Regions from separate parts of the Homo sapiens genome. Here region 2 is linked to region 1. The links are contacts of gene promoters, found by promoter capture Hi-C in human tissues and cell types (Jung and others, 2019). All regions are on one chromosome and are shown on one strand. Each heading gives the region's core, a stretch centred on a gene start or on the middle of the fragment in contact. The rest is flanking DNA. Distances are from core to core; before and after follow the strand shown.

Region 1 (4,716 bases), core at 751-3,250:
GCAGTGGCACAATCTTGGCTCACTGCAAGCTCCACCCACTGGGTTCACACCATTCTCCTGCCTCAGCCTCCCGAGTAGCTGGGACTACAGGCACCCGCCACCACGCCCGGCTAATTTTTTCTATTTTTAGTAAAGACAGGGTTTCACTGTGTTAGCCAGGATGGTCTCGATCTCCTGACCTTGTGATCCACCCACCTCGGCCTCCCAAAGTGCTGGGATTACAGGCATGAGCCACTGTGCATGGACTATTTATTTATTTTTTTGAAACAGAGTTTCAATCTTGTTGCACAGCCTGGAGTGCAATGGTGTGATCTCAGCTCACTGCAACCTCTGCCTTCTGGTTTCAAGCAATTCTCCTGCCTCAGCCTCCTGAGTAGCTGGGATTACAGGCACCCACCACCACGCTCGAATATATATATATATTTTTTGAGACGGAGTCCCGCTCTGTCACCAGGCTGGAGTGCAGTGGCACAATATCGGCTCACTGAAACCTCCGGCTCCTGGGTTCAAGCGATTCTCCTGCAGCCTCCCAAGTAGCTGGGATTACAGGCATGCAGCACCACGCCCATCTAATTTTTGTATTTTTGGTAGAGATGGGGTTTTACCATGTTGGCCAGGATGGTCTTGATCTCTTGACCTCGTGATCTGCCCACCTCGGCCTCCCAAAGTGCTGGGATTACAGGCGTGAGCCACCGCGCCCGGCCTACGCCTGGCTAATTTTTGTATTTTTAGTAGAGACGTGGTTTCGCCATGTTGCCCAGGCTGGTCTCGAACTCCTGACCTCATGATCCGCCTGTCTCGGCCTCCCAAAGTGTTGGGATTACAGGTATGAGCCACCGCGCCCAGCCAATTATTATTATTTTTTGAGATGCAGTCTCACTCTGTTGCCCAGGCTGGAGTTGCAGTGGCATGATCTTGGCTCACTGCAATCTTCATCTCCCAGACTGAAGCAGTTCTCATGCCTCAGCCTCCTGAGTAGCTGGGATTACAGGCACACGCCACCACACCTGGCTAATTTTTGTATTTTTAGTAGAGATGGGATTTCACCATGTTGGCCAGGCTGGTCTCAAACTCCTGACCTCAAGTGATTTGCCCACGTCGGCCTCCCAAAGTGCTGGGATTATAGGCGTGAGCCACCGGGCCCAGCCCAAGAGAATAAAAATGTGGGTGGTAAAAATTTTTTTCCCAAAAATTCGTAAATGAAAATCTCACATATTATGCATACTGCCCAGGAGCATGGCCTAGCACTGTGCAAACACTCAACTGCTGGTCGTTGCAAGGATTATTATTGGCCGGCTTCAGTGGCTCGTGCTGGTATTCCCAGCACATTGGGAGATGGAGGCTGGAGGATTGCTTAAGTCCGGGATTTCAAGACCAGCCTGGACAACATAGTGGGATCCCATCTCTACAAAGAATTTTAAAAATTAGCCAGGTGCAGTGGGAAGATTGCTTCAGTCCAGAGGCTGCAGTGAGCTATGATTGTGCCACTGCACTCCAGCCTGGGTGACAGAGCAACACCCTGAGACAGAGAGAGAGAGGGGGAAGGAGGGAAGGAGGGAAGGAAGGAAGGAAGGAAGGAAGGAAGGAAGGAAGGAAGGAAGGAAGGAAAGGAGAGAGAGAGAGAGAGAGAGAGAGAGAGAGAGAGAAAATAATTTTTATTTATTTCCAGGCTGGGAAGAGATGCTGATTTCTGCGATAAAATCAGTAGGTACATTTTTTGGAATGTTCGCTATGTGCCAGGCTAGATTTTACAGATGAGAAGTCTGAAGCTCAGGTAAGGTAAGTCACCTGTCCAGGGCCACAAAGAAAAAAAAAACGTGTGTCTGAAGCCAGAACGGGAGCTGTTGCGGCCCAACTCCCTCCCCTGCCCCCAAGCGGCCTCTGGGCTCGGGAAGGGCCCCTGCCTCCTCCCGCCAGGCACTTATCTCTACCCAGGCTGAGTGCTGGCCCCGCCCCCTCGGGGATCTGCCACTTAGAGGCGCCTGGTCGGGAAGGGCCTGGTCAGCTGCGTCCGGCGGAGGCAGCTGCTGACCCAGCTGTGGACTGTGCCGGGGGCGGGGGACGGAGGGGCAGGAGCCCTGGGCTCCCCGTGGCGGGGGCTGTATCATGGACCACCTCGGGGCGTCCCTCTGGCCCCAGGTCGGCTCCCTTTGTCTCCTGCTCGCTGGGGCCGCCTGGGCGCCCCCGCCTAACCTCCCGGACCCCAAGTTCGAGAGCAAAGGTAAGGATGAGCTGCGTGTGGACCCCTACGCTGGAGCCTGCAGGACCATGCTGGGGCCTGAACTCCCAGCCTAGGTCCTGGGGGCCATGCCTGTTTCTGGACTTCCTGACCGGGTCCTGGGGGCCAAGCTGGCATCTGAACCCTTAGACTGGGTCCTGGATGGGTGGGGGGCGGGGTGGGGTATGTTAGGATCCAAGACTCCTGATCGCGTCCCGGGCAAGAGCTAGAGTGGGCTTAACATTCCCGTTTTACCTTTTCAGGGAGTCTGGGACATGCTAAATCCTAAGGGGGCTGACTTGGTGCTAAGGTCCCTGGGGGGTGGGGACCAAGCCGACCCTCCCTAGGGGAGGGAGGGTAAAGCCCGGGTCCGAGTTAGAGGGGCCAAGCCACAGGCTACTGTAAACACGGTTTGTGTGAGGGCGCCAGATCACTTGCCCGGCCCGGTGGAGGGAGGGAGGCGGGGGGCACGGTTGGCGCTATCGGTTGGCGGGGAGCCTGCCGGGGCCGATAGGGGGCCCGCCTCTCCGCACACACCCCCAGCCGCGCGCGTGTCCTAGGCTGGGGCGGGGCTGGCAGTCCCGAGCTCGAGGTCTTGAACGCCGCGCCCAGCTCAGCTGGCCGCTGGGTGGGCAGGTGTGCGCCAGTGGTGACGGCGGGGGACAGTAAGGCGAGAAACTTGCCCCTGGGAATTAGGGGGGCACCACCTCTGCGGACCCCTCCAAGGGACCCGCTTGGGAAGATGGCAGGGCGGGGCTTTTTTCTTATCGGGTCCGCCCAGGCTGCGGGAGGGAAGAGGAGGGGGCTGTCTCCCGAGGATAGAGCTCAGACCCCCATGCCCTTCCTTTGTCGCCCCTCCCCAGCGGCCTTGCTGGCGGCCCGGGGGCCCGAAGAGCTTCTGTGCTTCACCGAGCGGTTGGAGGACTTGGTGTGTTTCTGGGAGGAAGCGGCGAGCGCTGGGGTGGGCCCGGGCAACTACAGCTTCTCCTACCAGCTCGAGTGAGTCCGATCCGGCGGGTGCCTCCAAGGGCGGAGGGAGGGGGTGGGGCAGAGCTCCCTGGAGGTCGTAGCCTCGTATGTCCCCTGCTGTTTGAGGCCCGACGGCGCCTCCAGTCGTGGTCACTGGAGGGAAACCTGCGGGTCCAGGGCTGGCACGCCCTCTATGGGCCGGGGCGCGAACACTCCCGCGATCACCGCTGGAACGCGACCCCAAACATCAGGCTGGGATAACAACGCCTCCAAATCGAGGGTAAGGCGTTACTACGTCGGGGCTGGGACGCCTTCTCGAGGTAGTATCCAAAAGGAGGCCAGCAGTGGCTCATGCCTGTAATCCCAACTCTTTGGAAGGTCGAGGCGGAAGAACCGCTTGAGCCCAGGAGTTCAAGACCAGCCTGGGCAACACAGCGAGATCCCCGTCTCTTAAAAAAAAATTAGACTGGGCGCGGTGGCTCACGCCTGTAATCCCAGCACTTTGGGAGGCTGAGGCGGGCGGATCACCTGAGGTCGGGAGTTTGAGACCAGCCTGGCCAACATGGAGAAACTCTATCTCTACTAAAAATACAAAATTAGCCGGGCGTGGTGGCGCATGCCTGTGATCCCAGCTACTCGGGAGGCTGAGGCAGGAGAATCGCTTGAACCCGGGAGGCGGAGGTTGCGGTGAGCCGAGGTAGCGCCATTGCACTCCAGCCTGGGCAACAAGAGCGAAACTCCGTCTCAAAAAAAAAAAAAAAAAAAGCCAGGCGTGGCGCGTGCCTGTGGTCTCAACTACTTGGGAAGCTGAGGTGGGAGGATCCCTTAAGCCCCAGAATTTGAGGCTGCAGTGAGCCATGATCGCGCCACTGCACTCCAGCCTGGGCGACGAAGGAACACCTTGTCACACACACACACAAGGCTAGACCTTGTGTCACACATACACACTGCCCCCCACAGGCCGGGCAATGCCAACTCCCCGGTCCCCCCTCCCAACCTGCTCCCTTCCCTGGGCGCATAGGGATGAGCCATGGAAGCTGTGTCGCCTGCACCAGGCTCCCACGGCTCGTGGTGCGGTGCGCTTCTGGTGTTCGCTGCCTACAGCCGACACGTCGAGCTTCGTGCCCCTAGAGTTGCGCGTCACAGCAGCCTCCGGCGCTCCGCGATATCACCGTGTCATCCACATCAATGAAGTAGGTAAGTGCTCTGGGAATGGAGGAGTGGTCGGAGGAGAGGGTCTCAGTCCTCGCCCACCTGACCAACCCCCATGCCTGCAGTGCTCCTAGACGCCCCCGTGGGGCTGGTGGCGCGGTTGGCTGACGAGAGCGGCCACGTAGTGTTGCGCTGGCTCCCGCCGCCTGAGACACCCATGACGTCTCACATCCGCTACGAGGTGGACGTCTCGGCCGGCAACGGCGCAGGGAGCGTACAGAGGGTGAGGCCAGCCCCTACGGCCCAGCCCCCAAAGCTCCACTGACTACGGCCCAGCCACGCCTCTCGAGGTCGCGCCCGGTGCCGCTTTCAGGGCC
Region 2 (4,716 bases), core at 579-3,078, 97 kb before region 1:
GCGGCGGCTGCCCTGGCCCCATTTCCCGGAGGAGGATGCTGAGGCCGCCGCCTCCTGCGGGCCGCTAGAGAGAGGGGCGGGGAGCGAGGCGCGGCCGCTAGGTGGCGTGCGAGGCGCGTAGGCCCTGGTGGCCGCAGCCACGTGACCCTGGGGACCGCAGCCGCGAGCTCAGGCACGTGCCCGGGGGAGCCCTGTGGCGCCACGCGCAGATTGGCCCCGCCGGTTCCTCACCAGTTCGGGGGATGAGGCGGGGCCCCAGCTATGCCTCAGTTCCTGCTGCGGACCGGGGGGCTACCCCAGCCGGGGACAGAAGAATCGGCAAGGATGAGCGAGTCCGGCCGCTGGGGCCGCCCCCGCGAGCTCCCTCCCCCCGCGAGGCAGGTCCCCTCCACTCTCCCCGCACTGCCGGAGCCGGCAGGTTTCCATGGGAACCGCAGCGGGGTCCGCGCGCCCAGGAGCAGCCCCCCTCCTAGCTCAGTTTCCGATGACGGAAACCGGGAGGAACACGGGGTGGGGAACAGACCATCGCTTGGGGCCCCTAGCGCCCGCAGCCAGGTCGCCCCGGCGAGCCCAAGAGGGGCCACCCGGGGATCTGCACCGCCACCGCCCCTATTGCGCGGGCCACTGCGATTGGCCTGCCCTTTCCAGGCGTGGCAGCATCCCCTGGTGCGCGCACTCCCATTGGCTCGATCTCTAGGGCATCTTCCAGTAACTGGTTATCTCAAGGGCCGCCCCTGATTGGGCAAATTAGGCTCTCCTCGCTGGTGGCGCTCTCTGACAGTCTGGAGCCTAAAGGGCGTGCAGGAACGAGGATTGGGTGGGGACTGCCGCTCTCCAGTTAGGGGGTCTGGGCTACCTCGCCGGCAGCGCCCTCGACCGGACTGTCGGATTGCTGTCTGTGGTGCTGAAGCCTCACGCCCTGGCGACCCCGCCCCAGTGTGTGCTAGTTCCCGCGCCCCGACGTAAACATGCACCGGCGCCCGCGCACCAAAGGAGGCTGCGCCACCCCCAACGCCTTAGAGAGAGGCCAGGTTCCCCCTAGCAGAGAGCGAGCATGACTCCACAGTCAGGAGGACCAATCACGAGCCTAGAAAGCCAGGACATTTATGTGGCAGATCCACCCACCCCAGTTCTGTGGGGTCCAAGAAGGATCCGTGGTTTCCCAGAGCTGCATGGCTCCAGCGATGATTGTCCAGAACACTGAGCCCCAAACCTTTTCACCCCCTTCGGAGCAGTGCGGAGTTTCCTTGCACTGGGGAGTGCCAGTCCTTACCTTTTGAACCCTAGAAGGATCCAGCTCACTCAAAACCAACAGCGTCCCAGTCTCCTTCTGCAGAAGACTAGGGCCACAGTAGCCACCCTCCCCCGTGGTCTTGAGGTGGTCTACACTGGTGCCTCCAAATCTGGGGACCCAGGCCTCTGCCTACTAAAATATTGGTTCCTGATCCCCTGTCCAGTTCCCTCAGTGGACAACACCTCTGGAAGGTCGCATATTCAGGCCACTAATACCTCCTCGCTCTGTTGGCTCCTCCAGCTCTAGGAGCTGGACGGAGGAGGGGAGCCCGTCTCCTGGCCCGAAAGCCAGCCCAAGAAGGGGTGCCAGGGTAGGAAGCAAGGGCCTCGAGGGAAGGAGGGCCCAAATCTGGCAACCCGAGCACCTAGGATGCGCTTTTGGGGGATTCAGAGTCCCGACCAGTGCGCGCTCACTTCCACCTGCCGCGCCGTCGGGAGCCGCGAGGAGGCGGAGCTCGGTCGCCGCAGCCAATGAGCGACGCCGGCGCTGGCAGCTGCTGCTATAAAGGGCTGGGGGCGGCGGCGGCGCGGTCCAGAGCGCGGAGCGCGCAGCGCGGGCCGGAGGGAGGGAGGGAGGGTGGGCGAGGGGAGAGGACTTGAACACACGGGACCGGACAGGACCGACCGAGGGGCGGCGGCGAAAGGCAGAGCGCCGCGATCTCTGTCGGGAAGCGCAACCTCCCCGGGCCCCGCGGGGCCGCGCAGGGGGCGTCCTCAACCCCGCGCCCGCTCCCTCTTTCCATCCCCTGCCGCCCGCAGGCCACCCCGGGGCCCGGCCATCCGCGCGCGCATCCCCGGGTTCGGGCCCGTCCCTGGCCCTCGAGGGAGCCGCCGCCTTCATCGCCACATCTGCAGCGGCCGCACCAGAGGCCGCCCGGGCGGGACCCCAGCGTGAGCATCGGGCGCCCCCCTAGGAGTGCACCACCCCCGGAGCCCCCCTCAACACGGACCGCGCCCGCCGGGCACACAAGAATGGTCACTGTAGGTATTCCCCTGTCGCCGAAAGGGAATCGGGACGGGGAGGAGTTGGGCCCAGGCTCCGCGGAGATTGGGCGGGTGCGGCGGGGGGGGTAGGACCAGGCCTAGCTAGGCCCGGGTTGGGGGGGTAGGACCAAGCCTCGGGGCCTGAGAGTGGGCAGGGCCGCGCCCAGAGTGCTGAGGGCGCTTAGAGCTTGGTCTGAGAGGGCCTTAGGGAGACTGACTGCGATTCGGGAGGCGTCCGACGCCGCCCTGGAGGCGGGATTGCCCCCTCTCCAGCAGGCCTGATGGGGGAGGGGCCGCGGCGGCTAAGGATGCTTCCTCCATCCAGGCCCAGACCCCGCAGGCCGCCCAGGCAAACGCAGGGCCCGATCACTGGTGCTGGGCCAAGCCAAAGCGACAAAGCGTCCCCGAGAGCCCTGGGAAAGCGGGTGGCGTCGGATCGCGCGCCCCGGGCCTCGGCCGCACCCGGGAGGCGGGCGTCTCGTCCTCGAGCCCGTCGACCTTGCGGCAAGCGGGGAGGGGAGAGGAGGGGGCGCGCCCGGAGGCCCCGCGGGCCCGCCGCCGCTGCTGCCGCGTCCCTTTGTTTCTCGGCGCTTCTTCGCGGGCCGCAGCCTCGCGCGGGCGCCTCGGGCTGCGGGGAGGGGGAGGGGAGAGGAGGGCCCGCGGGTTGGGGGGGCACCTCTGGGCTCCCGGGTCTCCGCCCCCCGGGAGATGGGGTGGGAGGCCGAGACAGCCCCCTTAGGCCAGGTCCAGGCTCCCCACCTCGCCAAGGCTCTGGGCCGCGAGGTGACCTTGAGCGCGGCCCGCCCGCCTGCTCGCCCGCACCGCTAGCCCCGCGCTCGGTGCTTTCAGCAGCCACGGAGCTGGTCAGCTCCCGAGCGCGCAGCCCCTCCCGCCCTGCCACGCCCTGCCTGGCCACGCCCGGGCACGCCCATCTAGGCCCCGCCCCCAGGGCCCCGGGGGCCCGGCCTCGCCCGAGCCCTCGGATTCCCACTCGGCAGCCCGGGCGTATCCCGGGGGCGGGGCTGGCCAGTTATAGCCCCACCCCGGCTCCACCCCCGCCCCTGCCGCGCGACTCCGCTCCCCGCGCCGCCGCGCGTCCTTTGTCTGGTCCCGGCGCCTGGGCCTCCCTCTTCCACTCTTCCTATCTCTCCGTCTCTGCGTGTGTGTCTCTGTGCATTGTGTCTCTTTCCGGGCCCCTTTTTCGAGTCGTGGCTAGCACTGGGGGTGGGGGCATGATTGGCGCTCCCTCCATGCCTAAGCCTCTCCCCTCCTGGACCCTGGGACCCGCCCACCTGGCTCTGAGAAATGAGGTCCCGGAGGCCTGGCTCACCTGCTGTGTGACCTCAGGCCGTTCCTTTCCCTCTCTGGGCCTCGTGCTGTTCACCCAGGTCTGGGAACTGGAGTGTGGCCTCCTGAGGACCTCAGAACTCCCGCAACAGTCCAGCATCTCCTAAGCGTCCTCTGATCGGTTCTCTCATTTGAAAAAGGAAACTAATGCACAAAGGGAAAGAGGGTGTGGTCAGAGGTCACACAAGGGCCTTGAGGACCTAGGTTCTCCAGTGAGCGAGCCCTGGGGCAGAGATGTATCATGGGGACAGGCTGGGAGGAAGAGAGGTGACAAATTAAGACCAGGAGGACCCTGCATTGAAGAAGGGCCCAGAAGTAGGAGGCTCAGTCAGCACCACGTGGTAGCCCAGCCTCACCATGCATAGCCACTCAATGCCCTATTGTCGCCGGTATCCAGGCATCTGTCACTGTGACTGGGGCCAGGGGCCGCAGCTGGGGGCCGTGGGGGTCAGACACAGGAGGTTTTAAGAAAAAAGTGGCCTCAGGTGTGTTCACTGCAAAACCCATACGTCAGATGTATGTGCGATGGTGGAAAAGAGGAAGAGAGAGTGATGAGGCCAGGGACACAGAACGGTTCAGAGAGAGGGCAGGACAGTGGAGAAGAGAGGGAAACAGAGGAAGAAAGAGGGAGAGAGAAACCAAAAGTCGGGGGAGACTTAGAAGAAGCACTGGAGAGAATGGGAAGCTTCCCTAACCCTCCATCTTTTATCTGCCCTCCTCCTCCCTGACTTTGCCACCCCCCCATCTCTGTCTGGGGCCAGTCGCCGAAGTCCCTTTGATGCCCATGTAGCCACCATCCCAGGCTGTGCACTTACTGCAGGCTGGGGCAGGGCGGGTGTGGCTTCCATCAATCTGATCCCCATTATCAGCTCAGCCGGCTCAGCCACAGAGGAAACGAGATACTGGTCCCGCTAAGCTCTGGCACAAATGGGAGGGAGAACGGGTGGTGGCCAGATTAGCAGGCTAGGCCTCAAGAACCTGGGTCTGAACCACCCAGTCACCTCTTCACTCTGCTCAGGTTGGGGACACCATGGGAGGGGGGCAGCCAGTAACTCTTTCGGCTCTAGGGTCATCGGATCAGGAGTCAGATGT

What was found. The method cuts DNA at HindIII sites, captures the fragments that hold promoters and counts their contacts. A contact is called where the count stands out against the background at its distance.
Region 2: a contact is called between the fragment with the promoter of ELAVL3 here and the fragment with the promoter of EPOR in region 1, in 11 of the 25 tissues and cell types used here (IMR-90 fibroblasts, adrenal gland, aorta and 8 more).

What each region holds. Positions count from the first base shown.
Region 1 is chr19:11,381,598-11,386,313 of GRCh38, reverse strand. EPOR (erythropoietin receptor) reads left to right here and starts at 2,000. Exons shown (of 8, transcript NM_000121.4): 1 at 2,000-2,221; 2 at 3,082-3,217; 3 at 4,209-4,384; 4 at 4,465-4,622. The coding sequence starts at 2,107. RefSeq lists a silencer at 2,701-2,760 and enhancers at 4,214-4,303, 4,314-4,373, 4,624-4,693, 4,360-4,716. The HindIII fragment of the contact is 19,405 bases long and covers 1-4,716 here.
Region 2 is chr19:11,478,158-11,482,873 of GRCh38, reverse strand. It overlaps ELAVL3 (ELAV like RNA binding protein 3), which reads left to right and starts at 1,828. Exons shown (of 7, transcript NM_001420.4): 1 at 1,828-2,274. The coding sequence starts at 2,266. RefSeq lists silencers at 22-461, 492-741, 3,116-3,310. The HindIII fragment of the contact is 31,814 bases long and covers 1-4,716 here.